2 separate regions of the Homo sapiens genome follow, and region 1 is linked to region 2. The links are contacts of gene promoters, found by promoter capture Hi-C in human tissues and cell types (Jung and others, 2019). All regions are on one chromosome and are shown on one strand. Each heading gives the region's core, a stretch centred on a gene start or on the middle of the fragment in contact. The rest is flanking DNA. Distances are from core to core; before and after follow the strand shown. Region 1 overlaps GLI2 (GLI family zinc finger 2). Region 2 holds the start of GLI2 (GLI family zinc finger 2).

Region 1 (5,044 bases), core at 469-2,968, 160 kb before region 2:
TGCTCTGGCTCACAATGGCTCACAATGAGCCTGCTCTCTGCAGATTGATCTCCAGGAAAGAGCTCTCCTGGCGGGGTGCAGGAGGCTTGCTGTCCTTCAGAGGAGTTTCCAGTGAAGGACCCAGTGTTTGGAGAGAGGCGTAAATGCGTGAGCAGCCAGGCCCTCCCGGAGGGAGTAGAGGAAAAAGGACTCCACCGCAGACCCTTTCGTTTCTGTGTCTGGAGGTGCCACGTGCTGACAACTGCCATAGCTCCTGGCTTTTCTAACCCTGGTCCTGGATTTAGAAAAGTCTTAGCACCAGCAGCCATGTACAGATTTGTTCCATAACTTGCTCTTTCATTCTGGGTGAGAACAACATCCAGCTACCCCAACTGGTAACTGTCATTTTGGACAAGTCGCTTCACCTCTCTGAGCTGCAGTTTCCTCATCTATTTTCTCTATCTGAGAAAATAACAAAGGACACTTTGTTATGATACAAGCAAGGGACTTCAGATTGGTGATGTCATCCAGAGGAGACTAGAAACCAACAGAATCCTCCGAAAACGCTGTGCCCACAATCTTTGCCCTCTTTACAAAGTAACACAGATACTCCTTGCCACCCAGAGCCGGGTGGTGATAAAATGAAGCTCTCTTTGTAAAGTGTCGAGCCCATAGTGGGTGCTCCATAAATGTTCATTTCCCCTCCCTGAAGCATGGCTCTGCACTCCGAGCTGGAAAGAAAGACAAACGCACCCCAATTCAGTGCGAATCCAGGCATGCACGCCCCAAGTGAGGCAGCCCTCGCTCACATCCATTTGCATTTCCTTCTGCGAGTGCTCCAATTTTAAAAGCTTAATATTTATTTAGATATTTATTTTCACTGTAAATACAACACATGTTTACAGAGATATTTATTTTTCTCTATAAACACAGTAAATGTCTGGGGAAAATATAATCCCAAACTCACAGGACTGGAATGATTTTCTTTATGACAATCATTTTGTGTGTGTGTGTGTGTGTGTGTGTGTGTGTGTGTGTGTTTTAATCTATATCAGTGCCTTATGCCATTGCGTTTTAACCCTAATTTCGAGGGAGTAGGGGGTGGATGGAAACCACTCCACAAAACAGCAACAAGAAAAGACCACAGGTGAAGGGGACCTGTGGTCCCCCTTCACTGAAAATCACAGTGTATCAACTCCTCTGAACGGTGGAAAGCAGAAAGGTGCAGTTCCCAAGGGTCAGCATCAAGATAAGACTTGCTGAACCTGACATTGATGCCTAATGAGTAATAAAATGTCCCTTCATGGGGTAGAGTTACTGGATGATATCATGAGACTTTAGCACCTTAAAGAGGTCTCATAAAATGTTAGCACCCTAAAGAGGTGACCATGTTATATAAATACAGGATAAAAGATACCAGCTCAGCATGAGTATCAGTCAAACCCACTCATTGTACAGAAAGGGAAACTGAGTCTCTAAGAGATCTTCAGGCCTGAGATCAGACATGTTAACGGCAAGGCCTAAATGGGTATTTTTTTCCAGAATAGAGTGGTAAAGATGTGAGTATCTAAGAAAATTACACAAAGTGTCCTTTGTTATGACACAGGTAAGGGATTTCAGGTTGGTGATGTCATCCAGAGGAGACTAGAAACCCAACAGAATCAATCCCCTGGCCTCCAAAAACCCTGTGCCTACAATCTTTGCCCTCCTTACAAAGTAACACATTTACTCCTCAACTTACCATGCCCCAGTAAACCCACAGTAAAGTCGAGCCATTGTAAGTGGAGAACTGTCTCTACTGTGATCACCTTTATTGCTTCAAAATTTATTTTTAGCCTTTAGTAGGAAAGCGGTAGTGTTCAGGCTCTTGAGCAAAACTGAGAGACGATTCTCTGAATCTCTGACAACTCTGGGCAGAGCCAGGGAGCAGGGGCCCATGCTGTTTCAGAGGTTTAGGACTCAAAGGATGGAATCCTCGTTCCCCTAACAGGAAGTCAACACGGGGAGTTTGCTACTTCTGAGGCTGACCCGGACAAGACCAGGAGCTGTGGCCACATTTGTGATGGAGAGGGCGTGGCGGCTGGAGCGTGTCAGTGGGGGTGGTGCTGGGGAGAGGCATGTGCCCGCAGGCAGCCCCATGGGGAACAGTGCAGGAATCTCTTCCCCCAGCCCCTCTCCCTCACACAGGCCACCTGGGACAGAGGTGGACACGTTCCTCCCCTGCCCCTAGGCAAGCACTGGCCTCAACTTCAACTTGTTAATTTCTATTTCATGATCCCCTTTTTTTCTTTCCCCTGATCTCCGCCACTTTTTGTTCAGCCCTGTTACACACTATGCATTTTTGGAGGCTGCCTGTAGAACTACATAGGGTAAAAATGAATAAACGAGCTTCTCAAGAGTTAACTCTTGGTGACTCTTGAGGGATTAACGCCCAAGCTGGGGATTCCTTGAGAAAAAGGGCCAAGGCCTCCGAAGAAGGCTGTGTGTGTGTGTGTGTGTGTGTGTGTGTGTGTGTGTGTGTATGGGTGTGTGTGAGTGTGTGGGGGGGTGGGTGTATGTGTGTGTGTGTGTGTGTGTGTATGTGTGTTTTTCAAAGGAAGCCATGGTAGAGACCTGTTGACACTTCCACCTTCAAAACAAAATGCCAGTTGTTGGTGGTGCTAAAATTTTTACTGCTGTTACCACCACACCAGCACTAGGGCCTTCAGAGTTTCACCCTTCAGAACAGAAACCACCTCCTTATTACTGTCAATACCCCCCCACCCCAGCTTGGTGGGCCTGGCTAATACTCATATCTCTGAGACATGCCGGATCCCACCCTGCCTCAGGCAGGGAAGACAGGGCCCCTCTGGGCTCCCTCTGGACCCCAAACAGCCTTCTGGGGTCATGGCCCTCGCCTACCCACACCCCTGGTGTGTCTGAGTCTCCCACTAGGCCTGGGGTGGGGCTAGGGGGCTGCCTTCAGGCTGACCTCAGGGTGGGGCGGAGAGAGGGTGGGGGAAAGAAGGGAGGGAGAAATCTGAGCCACACTTAATGCTATGAGATCCACAGACCATCAAGGCAGGTGAGAACCAACCTGCCCAAGATCACTCAGGGACAGAGAGGGACAGGAAAACTATGACAGTTCTAACTGTTGGCTTGATGAATCACAACCCTAGAACCTTCACACAGCTCCAGGACACCCTGGCCCTTGTCTGCCTTCTCCAATCTCAGTTTCCTCACCCATAAAATGGGAGGGGAGAGTCACATCTGTCTCACCAGGAGGTGATGAGCAAGAAATAGCTCTAATGACTTCAGAGCCCTTTGCAAATATCAAGGTGTTGGTTAGAAAACCATAGCAACCACAGTGGGCTCAAACCTTTCCTTTTAAAAAGAGGCAAGGAAGGGATTACAAGACGAGGGGAGACCAGTGACCAGACGAAGTGTCTCTGGGTTCCGGGCCCATCCTCCCAGGGAAACTTACTGAGAAGCATGTTTTTGTTTTGTTTTTGTTATTGTTTCTGTTCTTGTTTTTTGTGACGGAGTCTCGCTCTGTCACCCAGGCTGGAGTGCAGTGGTGCAATCTCAGTTCATTGTAGCCTTCACCTCCCAGGTTCAAGCAATTCTCCTGCCTCAGCCTCCCGAGCAGCTGGGATTACAGGCCCATGTCACCATGCCCAGCTACTTTTTGTATTTTTAGTAGACATGGCGTTTCACCATGTTGGCCAGGTTGGTCTCGAACTCCTGACCTCAGGTGATTTGCCTGCCTTGGCCTCCCAAAGTGCTGGGATTACAGGTGTGAGCCACTGCATCCAGCCCTGAGAAGTATGTATTTTTTATTCATAACAATTCACCCCAATTCTAAGGAGAGACTACTTCACTTCCCCTTCCTCCCCTTCTAACAAAGGACTGTTCCTTCCATCAGTTCCCCAGTGCCACATCCAAGCAAAACTTTTCTGCTCCATACTTACAGCCAAGTTCACACGTTTAGTTTTGTTGTTGTTTTTTCATTGTTGTTGTTTTCTTTTCCCTCCCAGTTTCCAAGGAGAGAATTGCTGGCTGCAAACGCTGGAAAGGCTGACACAGAGGGAAGCCAGGCCAGCCTGCAGGGATGGCTGAGGTCCATGCAGTGTCCACAGCCTGGTGGCCCAAGCCTCCACCGGGGAGCCCCTCCCCTCCCCTCCCCATCAGCCAGGTCCTCAAGGAGGCACCCATTGAGGCACTAGAAAGAAAACCATACTGGGCCGGGTACAGTGGCTCACGCCTGTAATCCCAGAACTTTGGGAAGCTGAGGCGGGCAGATCACGAGGTCAGGAGTTCAAGACAAGCCTGGTCAACATGGTGAAACCCTGCCTTTACTAAAAATACAAAAATTAGCCAGGCTTGGTGGCAGGCGCCTGTAGTCCCAGCTACTCCGGAGGCTGAGGCAGGAGAATCGCTTGAAACCAGAAGGCAGAGGTTGCAGTGAGCCAAGATCGCGCCACTGCGCTCCAGCCTGGGCAACAAGGGCAAAACTCTGTCTCAAAAAAAAAAAAAAGAAAGAAAAGAAAACCATATGGGAGGAAAGAGGTAAAATGGAAGTGGGGGGATTTATGGGGGGGCGGTTTGAAATCACTGGTACCCCCCCCCAAGGGTTAATGCATGTCTTCATTTGTGGTCCTCAAGGACACAAGACACAGATTAGCCCCCACCCCTGGCAGTAAGAACTGATCCCACACTGGCGCTCTAGAAAGAGAGTGAGAAGGGAACAGAATGCTCAGGAGGGAACAGAGCAGGCACTCTGAGCACTGGAGACTCCCAGGCTGCGTATACTCAAGGCTAAAGTCCCCCAGAGGCGTAGCTGAAACCCAGCCTGAGTCAGCGGAGCCACGCCGGTCCCAGGCAGCTATCAGCTACGCGGGCCCCAGGCAGCTATCCTTTCTAAGGGGTGTCCTTTCTAAGGGACATCTGTCACAAAAACACATTTAAAAAATATACTAATGAGTTTTGCTTTCAAAAAGTGCACAGATCTGAGAGACGGACAATTGCTTGGGAAGAACCAGGAAAGCAAGCTGAGCTCCAGGGTGAGATTGGGGCCTTTCCGGAA
Region 2 (5,028 bases), core at 422-2,921:
ACAAGACTCCCAGGGCGCGGGACCAGACAGTAGGGACAGGTCTACTTTTCCAGCTGGGATCAACTCTAGGAGCCACAGAACAATTACACAAAAGAGAAGGTAGTGGAAAGAGGCACCCTCGGGGGGGCTCGAGGTCCCCGAGAGCCTCAGCGACCGATCACCCAGGGTGAGGCGCACGGGCTCCATCCCCAGCTCCCCGCGCGGTAAAAGTCGGGTTTCCTAGGAAATGACAGCAGTTACCGCCGGGCTGAAAAGGCGCCGAGCTGGGTGGACTCCCAGCTCTCCAGCGCGGCGGGCGCGCTCACACTCACACACGCAAGCACACGCTCCCTCCCAGCTCCCCGCCCCCGCCCCGTCCGGGGAAAAGACTCCCCTCTCTAAACCCTTAATAGGATTGGCGCCCAACTCTCTCCGCGCCTCTCCCCATCCATCACATACAGATCAAGTTGCAGTAGTGGATTTTTCAAATTCCTCAGCAAATATACTTGTTGAGAGATTGTCGGGGGTGGGGAGAGACGATGAGTAGGGGGGCAGGGATGAAAGTGAGGTGGAAGGGGGAACCGGAGGACCCGGCAAAGGATTACGTGCGGATCCCTTTGGGAAGTCAAGCGGATCTCAGGGCCGAGGGCAGGAGAGGAGGAGAAGAGAGGCAAAGAGGGGGGGCCGAGGAGGAGAGCCCAGCAGAGGGGGAGGGGGCGGCCGGGCCGGGCGAGGGGGAGGAAGGATTGAGGAAGGAAGAAAGAAAGGCAGGGCTCCGGGACGCGCAGCGCGGAGAAGTGGAGTTCGAAGTTCTCAAGTGGCTGGCTGCAGCCCCTCCGCGCTCAGTACGCCCGCAGACACGCTCCCATGCCCACCTACGGCAGCTTCGGAGCATCCCAGCCTCCGATCCCACCCTCCACCCCCTGAAAAAACAGACCCCCGCCGGCGCGCGGAGGCCGGCTCGCTGTGCACCCCGAGAAGAGTGGTGCTCTCCCCCAGGTAGGGAGAGGGTGCAACATCGACCTCTGGCCACGAGCTCCAAGCCCCAGGACTCTCCTTACGTCCCCGCCCTGCTCGTCCAGAGCCCCAGGCGGGGTCGCGCCTACTAGCCTCTAGTCCCCCGAAGCCCAGGGCCCCGATCCCAAGGCCTAGGCGCCGGTACCCGGCCGAGGGACCCCCCGAGACGGCGCAGCATCCCAGTCGGCCCGCGCTTGGCCGAGGTGGGAGGCGCTTCGTCACGAAAAGCAAGCAAAAGAAGGCCAATGCAACTTTACCGAGAGAGACAAAAGTTTGCCTCTAGCACGCAGGTGGCCTCTCGGGCGCCGGGCGGTGGCTGTGGGCCCCCATCCCACCTTGGCTGGCGCGGCGACCCTCGGCTGGCTGCCTTGTGCCGGGGCTCCAGCCAGCCGGGGCGGGGCGGGCCAGGCAAGAGAGGGGACCGAGAGGCGGGCGGGCGCCGCGCAGCCCCTACCGCCGGCGAGCAGGCGGCTCCCCGAGGCTGCGGCGCGCCGCGCGGCCCAAGCTCTTTCCTCCGGCTCCTCCTGCGGCTCCTGGCCTTCCTCCGCGTTCGCAGTCGCAGCCGCCGCCGCCGCCCGCTCCTCCTCGAAGTCTCATTGATGGGAGTTTGAAAAAAAGTCCGCGGAGCCGTGCTGCCTCGGCTGGCAAGCGCCGGCACTTCTGCAATCCATCAGCGCCGCCGGACTGCGCAGCGCCCCCGCGCGCACGGTGCGGGCACACCCGGGCCCCAAGAACCCGCCAGCCAGCCCGCCCGCTCCCTGCCGGGGGACGCAGGGGGACCCGAACGCCGCCGGGGCGGGGGGAGGGGAAAGGGGGAGCACAGGGACTCTCCCCACCCAGCACCAAGGAAAGAAAACGCACCTACAAGGAAAGTTCGAGAAAGGAACCAAAGGACGCGCCAATCTCCGACACTTTTTTTAGACGACTAGGTGTGGGGGGGGGGGTTGGGGGTGTCGCTAACTCAAGTCAGATGAGCTCCGGAGCTGAGGGGCAAGGGCTGCTCTGTTTTCAATCTCTGAAATCCCCCCGCCCTCCCCACCTCCCACTTCCCTCCTCGGGGAGATGCCTGGGTCGCTGTTCCCAGGGCGCCCGCTTCTCTGGACGCCCGCGCGGAAGCCGGGGACGCCAGAGAAGGGACGCGGGGGCTGGGTCCACGCGGACCCTCTTCCCGCGGGCAGCGAGCGCAGGTGCCGGGGGTCCTGAGGCGTCCCCCGCCGCCGCTAGCCCTCGTCGCCATCTGAGCACACGCTGGCGAGAAACGAAGCAGCCTTCTAGGTTTGGTGCATGTGGCTTGCAGGGTGGGTTTTTGTTTTGTTGTGTTGTGTGTTTTAGAGACTCCACTCGAGCCGCTGAAGCCAGATGGAAGTAATCAGAACCCAACAACAACAGAGAAAGAAGGAAGAAAAAACTCCTCATTGAATTTTCTAGCCAAAGTGTATATGGGGCTGTGTGTGAAAGAACTTGCTTAAGCAAGCTCAGTGAGGAGCCCTGGGCCCTCAAGCCACACCACAGCCCGGAACTGGGCCGCCAGGCTTGGAGGAGAATTGGGGGCAGCTGGCTAAAGTGTCCTCCCCACACCCCCGGGCCTGCCACCCTCTCCAGGGCCCCTGGGCCTCACCCGAAGAGGGTCTTGGGGGGAATTTCTGGTTTTATTCTTCCTAACGTTTGTAGAACACTCTACCAAGTGCCAGGTGATGTTATATTTTCTTTGTATTATTGGACTTTCACAGCTCTGTAAGGAAGGTTCTCTTCTCGTGTTTTTACAGGTGGGAAGTCTGATGCTTTAAAAAGTTAAGTAACTAGTCTAAGGTCAGAGCACTCTGCCATCCTCCCAGAGCTTCGGGTGGTTGTACTGTAAGTTCAGTTAAATTTGCCCTGTTGGGCCGGGCGCGGTGGCTCACGCTTGTAATCCTAGCACTTTGGGAGGCCGAGGCACGGGGATCACCTGAGGTCAGGAGTTCAAGACCAGCCTGGCCAACATGGTGAAACCCCGTCTCTACTAAAAATACAAAAAATTAGCCAGGGATAGTAGCGCGCGCCTGTAATCCCGGCTACTTGGGAGACTGAGGCTGGAGAATCTCTCAAACCCCTTGGGAGATGGAGGTTGCAGTGAGCCATGATGGCGCCACTGCACTCCAGCCTGGGTGATGGAGCGAGACTCTGTCTCAAAAAAATAAATTAATTAAATTAAATTTTTAAAAAATTGCCCTGTTGAGGTGGGTGGAAGTGTCTCTCCCTTCAGCCCCTGTTCCTAAAATTGCATTTTATTTGAAATGCAAGGGACCCAATGCTACCCTCCCTGAGGGGATGTGACCTACACAGGCCCATTTCACCGGTGCAACCCTTTTTGTGGGTGGCTCTCTCCATATACCTTTTATCCTCTGCTAACTTTATTCTTTTACTTTTTAATCAAAGAGGATGCATTAGAACTTCATTCCTTAAGATCCTCCTTCCTCCTCCTGACATTCACTTATATGATGGAGCAACAATTTCTTCTTGACCTAGAGAAAAAAATATGCAGAAAAATATTAGAACAATTTGATGCTAATTTTGTTTGGGGGGAAAAGGTCGGCAGCATTTTTAAAAAGCGAAACTTGCATAAGCCAATGATTTAAAGAGAAGTTTGAAAGGGGCTTTTTCTTTAAAGATGATCAGATTCACCATTCCTCCGTGCTATTTGTTTAAATTCCTGCTGAGCTTTCAGAACACAGACTCTAAGGAGACAGAAAAAGTAAACTCTCCCTCCCCTCCTTGGCCATATTTTAATGACCCTATTCATATCTGCCCCATGACATGTAGGGAATCATTTCTCATTGCTGGAATATTAGCCGCGTTGGCTGATTACTTCATTATGAGCTTGTCTCTGTTGATTTCCTTGTGTTGTAAAGTTTGTGAAGAAGTTTAAACAAATCAATGTTTTAGGATATTTCCTTCTTCTCTGTTTTTCTTCTCAGACCAGCTCAACTCCTGCTGGACTCCAGGCACTCACATAACCTTTCCCGGCTTATTTTGGCAAGAAGATGGCTGTCGAGATGAAGACAGAATGTTTTTTGGTTGGAGGAGAACTCTGTAGACACCGTGCCTGAATCTCTAGATGGTCAGAAGTTTGGGCGCTGAAAAAAGCAGCAGAAGGTTTGGAGTGGAGGCAAACTGGTGTGGCCAGGGAAGCCTTCGACTGAGCGCTGGGACACCAGGTCCTAGTCCCAGATCTGGTACTAAGTGTATGACCTTTGGCCAGTCTGGTTCATTCAATCAGTACCAGGCACTGTGCTAAGTGGCTCGACACCACAGTGAGCAACACCTACAAGATCTTTCCCCTTAGGGAGCTTATGTTTCATTAATAACCACAAACAAACATATAATCACAAACTGGGTAAAGGAAAATCCACCGTGCTGTGGGAGCCGGTGATTGGAGACCTGAGCAAGCTGGGAGGTGAGCTTGGGGAGGGGAGTGGTACAGAGAAGGAGAACGCTTTCCTGGGGAGATGAGGTTGCACTGATAAGAAGGAATGAGGAATGAGGGAGGGTGGACTAGGAGAAGGGGAAGTGGAGTGTTCCAGTTCTTCCTTCTCCCTTTCTGTGAAATGGGCCTGAATGACGAGAAAAACCAGGCCCAAAAGGAAGCAGCTTGTTCATTATTTCCCCGTATTCTAGTGACTAGTCATAGAACAAATCACCCGCAAACTCAACGGAAGGAAACAACCATTTCTTATGTTCGTGGCTTCTGCACATCAGGATTTTGAACGAGGTATAACAGGGGCAGTTTGTCTCTGCTCCACAGTGTCAGGCCTCCACTGGAAAGCTTCAGGGCTGAGGCTGGGATCCTCTGAAGACTCTGGCTCCGCTGCCTGGCGGTCTGTGCTGACTGTTGGCTGGTGGGGGGCCTCAGTTCCTTTCCATGCACCTCTTCATGTGGTCTCTTTACTCAGGCTAGTTGGGGTCCCTCATAGCACGGTGGTAACTAATATGCAGGGCGAGCTTAACAAGAACCAGCCAGGGAGAAGGCCTTTGGTCTTCTATGAAACCTCGGCA

The links. Contacts are between HindIII fragments. The study calls those that stand out against the background at their distance.
Region 1: a contact is called between a fragment that was not itself captured here and the fragment with the promoter of GLI2 in region 2, in 2 of the 25 tissues and cell types used here (IMR-90 fibroblasts and neural progenitor cells).

Annotation. Positions count from the first base shown.
Region 1 is chr2:120,894,153-120,899,196 of GRCh38, reverse strand. All of the region lies in intron 2 of GLI2 (GLI family zinc finger 2), which reads right to left. Among named protein-coding and RNA genes, the nearest start is that of GLI2, 160 kb to the right of the region's middle. The HindIII fragment of the contact is 4,519 bases long and covers 1-3,977 here.
Region 2 is chr2:120,732,511-120,737,538 of GRCh38, reverse strand. It overlaps GLI2 (GLI family zinc finger 2), which reads right to left and starts at 1,671. Exons shown (of 14, transcript NM_001374353.1): 1 at 1,254-1,671. It overlaps LOC124906073 (a long non-coding RNA gene), which reads right to left. Exons shown (of 3, transcript XR_007087219.1): 3 at 2,689-3,497. LOC124907881 (a long non-coding RNA gene) reads left to right here. Exons shown (of 2, transcript XR_007087221.1): 1 at 1-978; 2 at 3,951-5,028. RefSeq lists enhancers at 1-467, 1,586-1,755, 2,395-3,042. The HindIII fragment of the contact is 8,822 bases long and covers 1-5,028 here.